Linked DNA regions of Homo sapiens: region 2 is linked to region 1. Evidence: promoter capture Hi-C in human tissues and cell types (Jung and others, 2019). All regions are on one chromosome and are shown on one strand. The core of a region is centred on a gene start or on the middle of the fragment in contact, and the rest is flanking DNA. Distances in the headings are between cores, read along the strand shown.

Region 1 (4,404 bases), core at 1-2,500:
TTTGGGGCTCAGAGGCAATGGCAACATCACATTTGTCCTTGTGAGATGAGTTTGAGCGGTGGCTGACACCTGCCCTGTACCAGGTACTAAATGTGGTTCTGGGGATACTATCACCAGTGAGCTGCCCTGGAAAGCTCATTGTCGGCAGAGGAAACAGGAGAAAACACGCAACAATACAGTATTCCAAACAGCAGTGGGTCACTGTCTTTACTTTAGGATTCATAAAGCCTGTTAATGAATGGGTGTGCTGGGGGCACTGTCATGTTCTTCAGCATGCTGCCTGGGCGACGAGGAGGCCCTTCCTAGGGTCTGACCTGGCTTCCCTTCCCAGGTGGGTGCAGGTGGCATGTCCACGTCTCTCCATTGACTGGGGCACAGCCTTCCCCAAGCCGCTGCTGACACCCTATGAGGTAACACCAAGCTCTGGGAGAGAGTGGGCTTTGGACGTGGTTCTCAAAGGTGAGGTCTGGAGTGGAGTGGGGTGGGTGGGCAGCACTTCGTTATGTTCGTAGATTCCGGAGTCTGTCTCGATTTCTCCAGCGGAGTCACTTCCTAGCTGTGTAGCCTTAGGCAAGGCCCTGAACCACACAGTTCCCTTCTGTGGCAGGGGACAGTGTGCCCTTCACAGGCCGTCGTGAGGACTGAATTCAGTAATCCAGGGGCAGAAAAACACTGGCAGATGTTATTGTCCCTCCCTCCCCTCCCCTAGGCGGCCGTGGCTCTGAGGGACATTTCCTGGCAGCAGCCCTACCCGATGGACTTCTACGCTGGCAGCTCCTTGGGGCCCTGGACGGTGAACCACGGCCAGGACCGCCGTCCCCACGCCCCGGGCCGGCCCGCGCGGGGGAAGGTAGGCGGGGGCTTCCAGGAGGGAGGAGAGACCGCGCCTGGGCACTGGCCGCCGCCCTGCGACCGCGACGGGAAACGCACAGGAGCGGAGCGGAGGGAAACGCAGGGTCGCAGGAGCGAGACCCTAACCAAAGTCTGCGACCTCAGGTGCAGGAGGGGTCCGCGCGTCCCCCTTCGGCCGTGGCTTGCGAGGACTGCAGCTGCAGGGACGAGAAGGTGGCGCCGCTGGCTCCTTGACGCGCTCCCGGGCCTCAGGTATCAGCCCCCGCTCTGGGTGCGCCCCGCCTTTTGCCGTTGTCATGGGAACGCCTTGGCGCTCCGAGGCCCGCCCTCGGGGCGGTGCTGACGTTCGGTTCCGCCCCGTGCATTGTGCTTCCGCTCGGGGAAAGACCGCTTCCGGTGCTTCCGTCGCTCCTTGCCGGGCATAATGGCCGCGCAGCGACCCCTGCGGGTCCTGTGCCTGGCGGGCTTCCGGCAGAGCGAGCGGGGCTTCCGTGAGAAGACCGGGGCGCTGAGGAAGGCGCTGCGGGGTCGCGCCGAGCTCGTGTGCCTCAGCGGCCCGCACCCGGTCCCCGACCCCCCGGGCCCCGAGGGCGCCAGATCAGACTTCGGTGAGACAAGCCCCGCTCCGGAAACGCACTCAGTTTCCTCCATCTTGTTTCGTCCCCCTCGACACCCTTCAGCATCCCCCACCCTGCGTCCACCCGCATTCCTCCCACCCAGTCCACACCCTTCATTTCTCGCGACCCATACCCTCTTTGCTCAAACTGCAGCCTGTCCTCCCAGGCTTCCGCCTTCACCGTCTTCCTCCGCTGTCTCCTGTTCAGGCCAATCCACTCATTTCCCCCCTCTCATTTCCCCCAGACTTTTGCCTCGATTCCCTTTTTCTCTCTGTCATCTCGAACCCTCCTGCCCTTTCTCATTTCTTTCCTTCCTGGAGCCTCCCATGCCCTAATCCCATCCTTTTTCCTCATATCGCTGTAGGGTCCTGCCCTCCGGAGGAGCAGCCTCGAGGCTGGTGGTTTTCAGAGCAGGAGGCCGACGTTTTCTCCGCATTGGAAGAGCCCGCCGTCTGCAGGGGCCTGGAGGAATCACTGGGGATGGTGGCACAGGCACTGAACAGGCTGGGGCCTTTTGACGGCCTTCTTGGTTTCAGCCAAGGGGCTGCGCTAGCAGCCCTTGTGTGTGCCCTGGGCCAGGCAGGCGATCCCCGCTTCCCCTTGCCACGGTTTATCCTCTTGGTGTCTGGTTTCTGTCCCCGGGGCATTGGGTTCAAGGAATCCATCCTGCAAAGGCCCTTGTCATTGCCTTCGCTCCATGTTTTTGGGGACACTGACAAAGTCATCCCCTCTCAGGAGAGTGTGCAACTGGCCAGCCAATTTCCCGGAGCCATCACCCTCACCCACTCTGGTGGCCACTTCATTCCAGCAGCTGCACCCCAGCGTCAGGCCTACCTCAAGTTCTTGGACCAGTTTGCAGAGTGAAAGATCAAGAAATGTCTCTGCTCCTACATCCAGCTCCTCTAGGGGCAGCCTCCGTCATCCATGCCCTCCCAGGACCCTCCACTCACTGCTGTGAGTGCGCCTCACCAGAACCAGTTAAGAGACAACTATCAATTCTTGAGACCCAAATTATAAGGGCCCTGCCCTGTACTGAAGAAAAGGGGAGCACAAGGCCTTAATGGACATTGACTTGTGAAAACGCAAACATGAATATGGTTGGAGAGCCCTGGATTAGGAGGGTGACATGGGGAAGGCAGAGGCTGGCACCATGGTGACTGCCACATAATAAAGTGGTGATTTGGATTTTGAGCATCTTTTTCCTGGTACACACAGAAAAACATTTTATAATGGAAGTCGGTTTCTTGGCCATCTACATAGTTTTCTGGGCAGCGCCAAGCAGGGAGGTGTCTCCAGTTGTGAGTCCTCGGACAGGCTGCTGCATGGGTGCACATACTCACGTTATTGGTGGAAGTTTTAAGTCCCAAACTGAAGGGAAGGAGGCCTAGGTGGCACAATCAGGGAGGAATATACATCTGAGAAGTTTTGGGAAGACATCACCTGGCAAGGCTGCCTGAACCACAGTAATTTAGTCTTCCTCTATCCAGATCACTGAGAGTTGTGTGCTGGTCTTCTCTCAAACCCTGGATGTGTTACCTGCTTCTCCCTAAGTGCTCTAACCTCGCTGAACTATGAGCCTGAAGGGTGGGTCGATGCCAGACCTTAGGTGGAGGCCAAAGACAGTACAGAATAAACAGCTTCTTCCTAAATTGACCCCATCTTGAGGGTTTCTGAGATTGATGCCATTCTTTAGTGACTACAGCCAAGGCCTAAGCAATCCAGCTGGTTTTCCCCTTGGGGCGTGTAGTTGTTCTTGGATACTTTGAGGATTGCTCACTCTTTTTTTTTTTTTTTTTGAGACAGGCTCACTCTGTCACCCAGGCTGGAGAGCAGTGGCCAAGATCCTGGCTCACTGCAACCTCAGCCTCCTGGGTTCAAGCAGTTCTGTCTCAGCCTCCTGAGTAGGTGGCGTTACAGGCATGCGCCACCACGCCTGGCTAATTTCTATATTTTTTTGTAGAGATAGGGTTTTGCCACGTTGCCCAGGCTGGTCTCAAAACTCTTTAGCTCAAACAATCCACCTGCCTCAGCCTCCCAAAGTGCTAGGATTATAGGCCTGAGCCACTGCACCTACCTAGGATTGCCCACTCTTTTTTTGTTTTCTTTACTTTTAAAGACAAGGTCTGACTCTATCACCCAGGCTGGAGTGCAGTGGCACAATCTTGACAGCCTCCACCTCCCGGGCTCAAGCCATCCATCCTCCCACCTCAGCCTCCCAAGCAGCTGGGGCTGCAGGCGCAAATCACCATGCCTGGCTAATTTTTGTATTTGTTGTAGAGAAGGGGTCTCACCATGTTGTGCGGATGGTCTCCAACTTGCGAGCTCAAGCAATCCACCTGTCCTGGCCTCCCAAAGTGCTGGAATTAACAGGCGTGAGCCACCTCACCTGGCCAATTGCCCACTCTTAATGAGTTCCCTCCCATTTCCAGTGCCACCTGACACCCCCCACCCCCTGACACACACACACACACTCTTGTTTTCTGACTTCCTGCCTCTGCAAGACAAGAAGCCTGTTCTTTTTCTGGAAGATCACACCAACTCCTGTTTAGCCCTCAGACATAGTTGCCAGGGAGCTAAGCAACTGAGCAGGAATTATGGTCAGGGACACAGCACAAATACTCCAGCCCATTTTTCTGACAACCAGACTAATATCCCTTACATTACCGAAAGTTCTGGGTTCCTCACTACAGAGATTAGCTGTCCAAAATTAAAAAAAACAAAACAAAACAGAATTATCCGCCCAGAGACCTAGTTACTGGGTGTGGAAAGTGTGTGTGGGGAGGGGTGGGAGGTGGTTCTCCCTTGCTTCAGTTGGCTTCTGCCTTGTTTTAAGGAATCTTCTCCTTTAGCAAAAGGAGGAGACTTTGGAATGGATTGATTACACAGACTGTGGTATCTGACCCATTGAATTTTAGAAAAAATTCTGATTTAAAGT
Region 2 (4,404 bases), core at 1,288-3,787, 190 kb before region 1:
CACCACCATGCCTGGCTAATTTTTTTGTATTTTTAGTAGAGACGGGGTTTCACCATCTTGGCCAGGCTGGCCTTAAACTCCTGACCTTGTGATCCACCCACCTCGGCCTCCCAAAGTCCTAGGATTACAGGTGTGAGCCACCGCACCCAGCCTGTTCCTTTTTATGGCAGAATAATACTCTGTTGTCTAGATACATCACATTTTGTGTATCTATTCGTTAGTTGATGGGCATTCGGATTATTTCTGCCTGCTTGCTATTACTAATAATTCTATGAACATTTGTGTACAAGTTTTTTGTGGACAGACGTTTCCATTTCTTTTATAGATAATCTGTCTAGGAAAGGAATTGCTAGGCTAAATGGTCATTTTATGGTTAACTTTTTGAGGCTATTGTTCAAAGTGTGTACACCAGTTTACCTCCCTGCCAACAGCGCGTGAGTGTGGAGTTTCTCCCCGTTCTTGCCAGTACTTCAAATTACACTCCATAGAGTTTCAGTTAAACTTCTCTGTAGACTATTTAGTAGTTTATAGACAAGGTCTTTCTTTACTTTTTCCCTCCAAATTTTTGTTGGCTGTTCTTTTTTTTTTTTTTTTTTTTTGAGACGGAGTCTCGCTCTGTCTCTCAGGCTGGAGTGCAGTGGTGCGATCTCGGCTCACTGCAAGCTCCGCCTCCCGGGTTCACGCCATTCTCCTGCCTCAGCCTCCCCAGTAGCTGGGACTACAGGTGCCCACCGCCACGCCCGGCTAATTTTTTGTATTTTTAGTATAGACGGGGTTTCACTGTGTTAGCCAGGATGATCTCGATCTCCTGACCTCATGATCTGCCCACCTCGGCCTCCCAAAGTGCTGGGATTACAGGCGTGAGCCACCGCACCCGGCATTCCTTATTCTCATATTTGTCATTTTGTTTTTTTTTTTTTTAATTTTACTGTATTGACAGCGCTGTCAAAACTTTGTTGGACGATGGTAATGTCAGCAGTTGCCTGATTTTCATGGAAATGCTTTTGGTTTCACTGTTCAATGCAGTGTTGATCGTGGAAAAACGCGCAGTTTACCAGGTGCAGGTTTTATTTTTTAAGTCCTCAGGATTTCATCAGAAATGGCTCGTAAATTCTTTCAAAGCTTTTACTACATCTTGATATGATCATATTTAATGAACTATTTTAATAGATTATCTAGGCTGGACGTGGTGGCTCATGCCTGTAATCTCAACACTTTAGGAGGCCGAGGTGGGTGGATCACTTGAGGTCAGGAGTTCGAGACCAGCCTGGCCAACATGGTGAAACCCTGTCTCTACTGAAAATACAAAAATTAGCCAGGCGTGGTGGCACATGCCTATAGTCCCAGCTACTCGGGGGACTGAGGCAGGAGAATCACTTGAACCCGGGAGATGGAGGTTGCAGTGAGTTGAGATCGCCCCACTGCACTCTAGCCTGGGCGACAGGGCAAGACTCCATCTCAAAAAAAAAAAAAGATTACCTAATATTCAACTCTTGTTTCATTCTTGCGATAAATCCTGCCTTAAAAAAATAATCCTAGGGCTAGGCTGGTGGCTCACGCCTGTAATCCCAGCACCTTGGGAGGCCAATGCAGGTGGATCACCTGAGGTGGGGAGTTCAAGACCAGCCTGGCTGGCCAACATGGTGAAACACCATCTCTACTGAAAATACAAAAATTAGCCAGGCATGGAGGCACACACCTAATAGTCCCAGCTACTCGGGAGGCTGAGGCAAGAGAATCACTTGAAACCAGGAGGCGGAGGTTGCAGTGAGTTGAGATTGCCCCACTGTACTCTAGCCTGGGTGACAGAGCAAGACTCCGTCTCAAAAAAAAAAAAGGATTGCCTAATAATTCAACTCTTGTTTCATTCTTGCAATAAATCCTGCCTTAAAAAAAAATCCTAGGCTGTGCTGGTGGCTCATGCTTGTAATCCCAGCACTTTGGGAGGCTGAGGCAGGTGGATCACCTGAGATGGGGAGTTCGAGACCAGCCTGGCCAACATGGTGAAACCCTGTCTCTACTAAAAATACAAAAATTAGGTGTGGTGGCGGGTGCCTGTAATCCCAGCTACTCAAGAGGCCGAGGCAGGAAAATTGCTTGAACCTGGGAGGCGGAGGTTGCAGTGAGCTGAGATTGTGCCACTGCGCTCCAGCCTGGGTGACAGAGTGAGACTCTCTCTCTCAAAAAAAAAAATAAGAATTATCTTAGCTTGCTAATTTTCTCTTTTTATTTTTAAAAATCTTTTTTCTGGAAAACTTTAAACATCTACAAACATAGACAGAATACACAGTAGTCTGATGAATCCCCATATAGCCCATCATTCAGCTCCAAATTGTCATCTGTTGTCCAGTTTTGCTCTAGCTCCATCCTTTCAACGTCCACTATCCTCTGTAATTTTGAGGTAAATCTCAGACATCATATTATTTCATCCATAAATATTTTAGTATGTATTTTTGAAAGATAAAAACTCTTAAAAAGACACTATCCCATTTCACACCTAAAAAAATACCGTCCGTGTTGTATTTCCATCTTGTTGTATATGTGCGTGTGTATGTGCGTGTGCGTGTGTGTGTGTGTGCCCACACAATCTATATGAATCAGAATCCAAAATAAGTTTCCTGTGACGGTAGATTGATGGTCTGTTAAGTCTCTCTGAATCTGTAGGCTCTGCGTCTGCCTTTTTTCTCCTTTACTGTTTATTTGCTGAAGAAACCAGGTCATTTATCCTTCACCTTGTGCAGTTTCCCCCAGTCTGGATTTGGCTGATTGCATCCCTGTAAAGTCACTTAATGTGTCCTTGTCATCTGTATTCTCTGTAAGTTGATATTAGTGTATTCTTTTAATATGCTGCTAGGTTCATCTTGCTGATATTTTATTTAGGATTTATGGGATATTGCAGGATGAAATTAGTTTTGGTTTTGTGTGTGTGTTTTGTCTTAGGTTTTAGTATTAGAGTCATACTAAATGATTCATAGGCCTTCTATTTTTATATGTTCTGGAGTGATTTGTATAATTTGGAAAGTAGTTAAATATCTGCCACTAAGTATCAGATAGTTATTACAGGGAATCTAGATACCATTTTCAGGAACAGATAATTTCAGGCTTATCTTATTGAAACTCTGATGTGAAACCTGATAAGGGTAGCACACACTGATTGATTGTATGTAAAAATCCAAATTATAGCAGTCAGACCATTTAAAACAAACGATTGATTGTATGTAAAAATCCAAAAACAGCAGTCAGACCATTTAAAGTCTAAAACGTGATGAATTTGGGTAGATTATTGCTTAAATATTGCCCTAGGCCTGTTTCTTCAGCTCCCTTGCCACTAACCTCATTCAGGCCTCTGTCATTTTGTCTCTTCTCTTGGTCTCCCTGCCTCCAGTCATGTTCCCATTAAATTCCTTCTTTTTAAAATGCAGACATTGTGATATGCTCATCAAGTATGTATTGAGCAACAACTGTGGGCCATTTGCTTCATTAAGCACTGAGGGATACCTGTCTTTATTGACAGTACAGTCTAGTAGGAGCGAGAGAGAATAATAAAATAATCACTAATGAACATATAATTAAGACGGAGCAGAGTGTTCTGAAGGAAAGAAATCAAGGCTGTAGGAAAGACTAGAACAAAGCAACCTGATCTCAACTAGAGATTAAGGAAGTGTCTCTTGAAGTGATGTTTGAGACGAGAGCTAAAAAATGAGTATTAGATGAGGCAAAATGAGAAGGAACACAACACCGCAATCTCAGAGCATCACGGACAAAGGCCTTGTGGCAAGAGGGACTGTCCCATGTGGTGGAACTGAAAGAAAACAGGAAGGCCAGAGGGCAGAGGGCAGAGGGCAGGCAGCGGCACGGGAGGGGGGTTAGCAAGGCCAGGCCAGGCAAGCCATGGCCCAGGTTTTTCTTTGTGGCCTAAGGTCATTGGGAAGTTATCACAACGTTTTAATTAGAGTTAAAAAGCAAAAGAACTGTAAGTTCTTAAAAATGGGTCATTATTACATTTTTTAAAATATCTATTGTCATAATTGGTTTTCACTGGGAAAAAGTCATTGTTGAGATAAGTATGTGTTTCTGAAAACAGTTCATCTCTTTTTATGCCATATATTCTTGTGTTTAGTAATCTAAATTCTTACCATGTCGGTTGGCTCCTTGAAGATACGGTGCGTAGCGAGAACACTGCATTTTAATTAAGGAACTAGTTGGGAACTGAAAACCCTGCAATCACTTGATAATGATGCGGCGAAAGATGAAGAGAAATATTTATGTAAACAGATGACAAATGGAAAATAGTTCATCACAATGATCATCGGGGAAAGCATTTTGAGTAGCTTATCATTTGAACAGAATTTGTTTTTCTAACCTGTTTCTGTTTGTCTGCTTTTGCAGGAGAGTAGTTATCTT

The links. The method cuts DNA at HindIII sites, captures the fragments that hold promoters and counts their contacts. A contact is called where the count stands out against the background at its distance.
Region 2: a fragment that was not itself captured here is called in contact with the fragment with the promoter of OVCA2 in region 1 in 4 of the 25 tissues and cell types used here (IMR-90 fibroblasts, aorta, dorsolateral prefrontal cortex and 1 more).

The regions. Positions count from the first base shown.
Region 1 is chr17:2,040,772-2,045,175 of GRCh38, forward strand. It overlaps OVCA2 (OVCA2 serine hydrolase domain containing), which reads left to right and starts at 1,251. Exons shown (of 2, transcript NM_080822.3): 1 at 1,251-1,460; 2 at 1,834-2,654. The coding sequence starts at 1,277. The coding sequence ends at 2,333. DPH1 (diphthamide biosynthesis 1) reads left to right here. Exons shown (of 13, transcript NM_001383.6): 10 at 332-410; 11 at 710-850; 12 at 997-1,104; 13 at 1,834-3,127. The coding sequence ends at 1,086. RefSeq lists silencers at 754-843, 1,354-1,553 and an enhancer at 1,104-1,163. The HindIII fragment of the contact is 24,727 bases long and covers 1-4,404 here.
Region 2 is chr17:1,848,712-1,853,115 of GRCh38, forward strand. RPA1 (replication protein A1) reads left to right here. Exons shown (of 17, transcript NM_002945.5): 5 at 4,390-4,404. Among named protein-coding and RNA genes, the nearest start is that of RPA1, 21 kb to the left of the region's middle. The HindIII fragment of the contact is 7,908 bases long and covers 1-4,404 here.